Regions from separate parts of the Homo sapiens genome. Here region 2 is linked to region 1. Evidence: promoter capture Hi-C in 16 types of primary human blood cells and fetal thymus (Javierre and others, 2016). All regions are on one chromosome and are shown on one strand. Each heading gives the region's core, a stretch centred on a gene start or on the middle of the fragment in contact. The rest is flanking DNA. Distances are from core to core; before and after follow the strand shown.

Region 1 (3,390 bases), core at 368-2,867:
GCTACTTTTTCTTCCCCGAGAAGAAAGGAAAGGGGAATTCTGAATATTTTTCTTACTACCGGAGGTTTGTGTGAGGTTTTTGATCCCCTGAAATTTGTGGAAGGCTCAACACCTCAAACCAGGGGGTATCTTGCCTTGCCTGACCTGGAAGGCTCAACCCCTCAAACCAGGGGGTGTTTTGCCTTGCTGCCCTGGAAGGCTCAATCCCTCAAACTAGGAGGTGTCTTGCCTTGCTTCCCTGGAAGGTTGACCTGTTTCCTCCCTTTCCCCCTCTGAAGGTCCTTTGCACACTTCCCACTCGTGTTGTCCTCTCTGGCTGCTCCCCCAAGGGAGAATTAGGCCCCCCTCAGCATTGGCATTCCAGTAGAAATCCCACCGCAGGATCCTCCCTAAGCCATATGAGGTAGCTACGGAAACGTGGAGAGGACCCACTCACTCCGTCCAGCAGTAGGACTTGTCATCATCCACACGAACAACACCACAGGTAGGGTTGTTTGTGATCATTCACGCACACACACATTTAGCCCTCCAGAATTTGACCACCAAGGAAGTACCTTACCGGCTCCCTCGGCTTCTTCCTTTGTCTGTGCACAGAGTTGTCTCTGCAGTGTGTGAGGATGCTTTACCCTAGGTTGCCTGCTGGTTTCTTTTCACATTGCTGAGAGCTCAGGTTATTTCTTGCACTGGGTGAGTCCTGATTTCTCACCCCTGAGGCCATCACAAGAGGGTGGGGCATACCTCCTCAGGAGAGAGAACCAGAGACTGCCCCTGAAGGGGAATGTAATCACGAGCAAGCCCCCAAATTGTTATAAATAAAGTTTCCCCCCAGTGCCGCAAAAGAAATAGCACTCGAATATAAAATTTTCTTTTTTTTCTTCTCAGCAAGGCAATTTACTTCTATAGAAGGGTGCGCCCTCACAGACGGAGCAAAGGTGAGCGCACACCTGGACAAGGGAGGGGAAGGTGGTTCTTATGCCTGACCCACGTGATTCCTGATGCTGTGTCCTTCCCCTGTTGGCTAGGGTTAGACCTATAGGCTAAACTAATTCCGATTGGCTAATTTAAAGACAGTGAGGGGGTGAGTGGTTTGGCGGGAAAAATGGTTACCGCAGAGCAGGAAATCGGAATGAACCACGGTGAAGAATGAGTGAGGGAGGAGCAGGTAATCGAAAAATGTTGCTTTATGAGGAAGTTAAGTTTAAAAGTAGAAGGCAAAGAATTGAAGATACTGACATATTGATTCTTTTAAGATAAATTTAGAACTCATATCTAACAGCTGGCATGTCTGGCATGGGGCTCCGGCTGGGGCGCAGTCTTCAGCATTTGGGGCTCTGGGGTGCAGGGGGCAGAGGACGGCCGGGGCTGTGGTGCCCAACCGGTGCTAAACTCAAGCTTGGGAGGTCGCCCACGAGAAACAGTCGCCCTTCCCCACCCGCCTGCTCGGCTTGGCGGGGAGCGGGATGTCGCTGGGGGCGATGCCAGGCGGGCCGCCTCTGATAGCCTCTAGGCTCTGGCGCGCTTCCCCGCCCCTCCCGCGCAGGCGGGCGTGGGATCCCGGCTGATCCAGTCCGGGTTTTGCGGCGGAGCGGGCGGGCTGCGCGTGCGGCGGCTTCAACTGTCGCGGTAGGCAGCAGCAGGCTGAAGGGATCATGGTGCAGTACGAGCTGTGGGCCGCGCTGCCTGGCGCCTCCGGGGTCGCCCTGGCCTGCTGCTTCGTGGCGGCGGCCGTGGCCCTGCGCTGGTCCGGGCGCCGGACGGCGCGGGGCGCGGTGGTCCGGGCGCGACAGAGGCAGCGAGCGGGCCTGGAGAACATGGACAGGGCGGCGCAGCGCTTCCGGCTCCAGGTGACTGCCGGAGCGTAGTGGGATGGGCGCGGCCTGAGGGTACTCGCAGCGGCACTTTCAGCCGCCGGACCCGCCGAGGGACAGGGGATGGGGCGGGCAGAGCAGATGTGTAACTCTCCAGAATCTCTCCTTGCCCTAAGATATTCCGCACTTTCTGAGCCAGGTAGAGCACGGGGGAAGAAAGGAAACGGTAGTGTCAAGGCAGGTGGTGGAAGGCCTTTCCCTCACTGGGTCAAAGAGGAGTTTTGCTTTGTGCCAAAGAATCTCACGATTGCTGCCTATTGGAATGCGAAAACGCAAGCGTGACAACCAGTGGGATGCCAGGGGTTGAGGACTTTGGAATCGCAGAGTGTAATGGCCAAGGGGATCTGGAGAGCTTAGAGTTTTGTTTTTTGTTTTTTTTTGTTTTGTTTTGAGACGGAGTCTCGCTCTGACTCCCAGGCAAGAGTGCAGTGGTGCGATCTCGGCTCACTGCAACCTCCGCCTCCCGGGTGCAAGCGATTCTTGCTGCCTCAGCATCCCCAGTAGCTGGGATTACAGGGGCCCGCCACTACGCCTGGCTAATTTTTGCATTTTTAGTAGAGACTGGGTTTCACCATGTTGGCCAGGCTGATCTCAAACGCCTGACCTCAGTTGATACACCTGCCTCGGCCTCCCAAAGTGCTGGGCGTGAGCCACCGCGCCTGGCTGAGTTCAAGCTTCTTGATTTGTGCATTTGGATCCTAAGAGGGAGCCAGAAAGAAACCTGCCAAGTGCACAGGGAGATCTTGGCAAAGCCAGGCTAGAAGGGAAGTCTCTCTGGCTCCTGCTGTGGTGTCCAACCCCTGGCAAGCCCTTTCCATGAGCAGGTTTAGTTCCAGCCCTCCGTGGGTGGTCTGTCAACAAGCTTTTCTCCCTGCGCTGCCTTTGGATCACCTCAGTATGTGGGTTTGGAGGCGTGGAAGGGCCTGGCTGAGGGTTTGGAAGATGTGGCTTGAAGAGGGGCTTTTCCTCTGGGTGTGTGAAACACTGACCCCAGTTAAAGCCTTCTTATGTGCTGAGAGAGGGAGGGCTTGCTGTATCTGTGGGACCTGACAGGTGGGAAGGCTTTACAGGTTGGGAACCGCAGGACTCAGGAGGGTGTGCCTGGGTGGGAGACAGAAAGAGTCACAGAAAATTGTGTTCAGCAGATGTTCCGCAAGTGATTTTTGAGTTGGGGCAGAGCTGGAACTAGAACCTAGGTGCCCGCTGCACTCTGCAGCCACACTTTCGTGGAGAGGAACAGGAGAGAGATATGAGGAAGGCACCTTGCATGCCAGCCCAGGGTGTAGCCCTGCATGTTGAAGGGGGCCAGCCCCTCCACACCTGTGGGTATTTCTCCTCAGGTGGGACAAGAGACTGAGAAAAGAAATAAGACACAGAGACAAAGTATAGAGAAAGAACAGTGGGCCCAGGGGACCACCGCTCAGTATAGGGAGGACCCGCGCCAGCACTGGTCTCTGAGTTCCGTCAGTATTTATTGATCACTATCTCTACCATCTCGGTGAGGGGGATGTGGCAGGACTAT
Region 2 (3,390 bases), core at 133-2,632, 160 kb after region 1:
GCAGGTTGCTGGAATGAGCCTGGCTGACACCACCACTGCGTCTCTGCTGTCCCCACGCTTCCCCAGGGCCCCCAGGGCCGGACTGGGTGCTTGTCCTCAGCATGTTCCTCCCCACCCAGACCTGGGGAGCAGGAGCAGTGGAGCCAGTCCTGCCTTGCCCGCCCCCGCTCCATCCCCCGATGAGCATCTGTGCCAGAACCCGCAGGTGTAGATACCTAAAGCCCCCTAGCCTGATGCTTCTGGTCCTGCCTTTGGCCTGGGCGGGGGCGGGGGGTGGGGTGAGGTGAGGTGAGGTGAGGGATGGCATTCAGCGTCACTGCGGGGCAATCAGTGGGCGTGGCCCCACACAGATAGATGGACACAGCTGCTGTGGAGGCAAACAGGGAAAGAAGACGAAACCCTTTTTCTGAGCTGGAGCCTGTCTTGGCTCAGAGAGTCCTCAGGAGCTCTGTCCTTTTACCTGCCGCCATCAACCCCCTGTTCCGCCCAGATAGGCTGATGAATCCCACCACAAATCCAGGAGCCTAGAGCTTGGGGCTGGAGAGCCAGTGGGAGTAGCCAGAAAAGAGTGTGACGGCCAGCTCTCCTTCTTTTCTCCTCCCTGTGGCTGGAAGGAGCCCCAGCGCGTCGCTCCTCTCCCGCCTGTGCCCCTGATGGCGGCCTTGCTCACACCTCTAGCTTCCGTTCTCCCCAGCTGATTCCTGCTGACCCAGCCCTTCCCTGTTCCTTGTTCACCTGACGATGCCCCTGCCCCCACCTCCAGAATCTCCCTTCCCTATCCCAGCCCAGCCCCTGCTCACCCAGAACAGCAGCGCCAATAAAGACACCGCCCATGGCAGCTGCAGCCTTGGATACGGAGATGCCGATAATGATGCTGCCAGCCACCAGCCCGAGAGCCACGCAGGCCAGCTGCAGGCCGCGGAAGTCTCTGCTGCTGATGGGGATGTCCATGCAGGCCCACCCGGGGCACTGCCTCCAGCCGGTGCAGTCTGGCCCCAGAAAAGTCCTGGAAGTTTCTGGGCTCTTGGATGTCTCCTTGTTGGCGCTCCAACTTCAGGGTAGGAGTTTCTGGGCAGTAAGATGATAGGTGGGGAACCCTGGGATTTATCTGCAGTCCTATTCCACTGCTCCACTACGGGCCCCCCAGTCCCACCTTGACCAGGGATCTGTACGAGGTCACCCAGCTTACTCTTCCTCTCTCAAAGCCCTCTGAAGCTGAAGCCCACCCTTGGGACTCCTGTCTGGCTACATTTCTGCTTTGGCTGCCAGAGTTCTAGGGAGCTGGGCCTGTTCCATAGGATCCTTCCCTGCCAGCCTCCACCCAGGAGAGTTCAAGCTCCCCTGCCCAGGACATCCTGCCCCAGCTTCCTAGAGCCACTTACTTGCCACTGAACCTCAGCCTATGAAAATTTAAAGCAATGAGAGGCAGGGTGAGGGGGGAGTTGGTCCAGCGGCCACAGGCTCCTCAGAGATGTAGGCAGCAGGGAGGTGCTGAGTTATTCATGAGGTTGCAATGTGAGTGGCTGTCTGGGTCCCAGGGCCCAGCGGGCAGTCAGCCCAGGTTCCACTGCTGGTTCCTGAGGAGGAAGAACGAGCTGGTGGCTTTGCATGTCGTTCAGAAGCCAGGGATGTGAGGAGACTCCTGATCACATGCTCAGGGCCCGCTGTAATGTGCTCTGCCCTTTGGCCTGGAGGTGCACCTGGGGTCTCTGCTTGGAGTCTGAGATAGACACACAGCAGGAGGCTCAAGAGACAGGAACTGCACCTGGTATGGAAAGCGGACAGGGAGAGGCATCCCTCCAAGTCTGCTCCCTACCCCTGCCCATCCCATCCCCATCCTGTCCACCTCTGGGCTCCCAGGTAGGGCTGAGGGCGTCCTAGTTTGAGGCTTGATCTCAGGGGACTCCCTTGTCCTCAGGTGGGCTTGGTACCCACCCCCCTTTTAGTGGCCAGTGGAATGGAGAGTGAACCCTTCTAGCCACCTTGGGGATCCCGACTGGGAGTGAAAGGGAAGAGCAGTGGTGGTGCTGGTGTGGGCAGGAGGAAAACACCTAAGGGGTAGGGTAGAGAAGAGGACTTGGTAGGGGCTAGGTGCCGGGAGTGGGAGGCTGGGTCATGGTTGGTGCCTTCCCATCCGCTGAACTGAGCACCTGCACCCAGCCTGTCTGAGTTACTTGCAGGATGCCCCACCCCAAGGCTGGGCAGTGGTCACCAATGCAGCCTAGCCCTGAGCCCTGCCCCGGCCCCCAGTTCCAGCCTTTATCATTCATTGCGTTATTTGGCCCTTTATGGATTGGGGACCCCCCAGTCTCAGAATATGGCCCCGGCCTGGCCCTGCACCTGGGCACAATTCCTAGGGTCCCATAATCCTGCTCGGAGTCCCGTCGCCAGCCTCCCTGGCCTCTCTTTGGATGCCCCCTCTCTGCACTGCATCTGCAGTCTCATATTGCCAGGCTCAACTTCTTGTTCCTCCACCTGCCTCCATGGCTGCCCTGTTCTTGTTCTATCTCCTCTGTAGGCTGAGAGCCCCTTGAGGGCAGGTTCCAGGAGTGAGCTCCCCAGAATGCTGTGGCTGGGAGGGACCTGAGCTAGGCTTCTGAACATGAGGACAGAGTTCAGGGAGAGGGCTTGGACTGCACAACCACCTCCAGTCATCAAAGAGGAGGGCTGTGGACACAAGGGAACCTCTGTCTCTAACAAGAGGCATTCCTTGTATGTGGAGAAGGGGGCCTGAGAAGGCCCAGGGTCACCTGAGTTGGAGCTTCGGCTCATGATGAGTCTGTAGAGAGGGGTGACTGCAGCACACAGATGGGCCCTGGACTGTGTTCCTGTTCCCCACAGAGGGAACACCCCTGGAGCTGGGCATTCCCCAGCCACGGTGCTGCTGCCAGCATCTGCTGTGCCTCCTGCCTGGATGAGATCTGATTATTCCTCTAATTAGGCATCAAATCATAGCCCATGTCTCTGTCACACATAATTGATCCCCCACTGACTTAGTTTTAGAAGGAGCCACCAAAATAATTGTCCATGAAACGTGTTCCTTGCTCCTCTCAAAGTCTAAGGCTGAGGGCGACTCTCTCACACCCTCACCAAGATAGAAGCTCTTGGGGCCGCGTTTTCCACCTCGCACTATGGGGCTCGGGCCAGCCATTCCACCTCCCTGAGCCCACTGCCTTGTCTGGTGATGGGGATGGGGGTGGCAGAGGCACCTGTGCACTGCTTCAGATCTCAGAAAACACTGTGATCTCAAAGGAGAGGCACGTTAAGCCTTTTTCAGTTCCAAGATCACAGAACCAGGGCCGTCCCAGCTCTTCATATAGGTGGGGAATCCAAGACATGGGGAGACAGAGGAATTGCCCCAGAGTCCTCATGGATTCTGCCCCTCTGGGA

The links. The method cuts DNA at HindIII sites, captures the fragments that hold promoters and counts their contacts. A CHiCAGO score of 5 or more calls a contact.
Region 2: the fragment with the promoter of KNCN here is called in contact with the fragment with the promoter of FAAH in region 1 in 1 of 17 cell types (M0 macrophages); the score reaches 5.1 in M0 macrophages.

The regions. Positions count from the first base shown.
Region 1 is chr1:46,392,700-46,396,089 of GRCh38, forward strand. It overlaps FAAH (fatty acid amide hydrolase), which reads left to right and starts at 1,618. Exons shown (of 15, transcript NM_001441.3): 1 at 1,618-1,844. The coding sequence starts at 1,650. RefSeq lists an enhancer at 1,506-2,019. The HindIII fragment of the contact is 1,150 bases long and covers 1,391-2,540 here.
Region 2 is chr1:46,550,265-46,553,654 of GRCh38, forward strand. It overlaps KNCN (kinocilin), which reads right to left and starts at 1,383. Exons shown (of 4, transcript NM_001322255.2): 1 at 801-1,383. The coding sequence starts at 951. All of the region lies in intron 3 of MKNK1-AS1 (MKNK1 antisense RNA 1), which reads left to right. RefSeq lists an enhancer at 1-145. The HindIII fragment of the contact is 11,434 bases long and covers 1-3,390 here.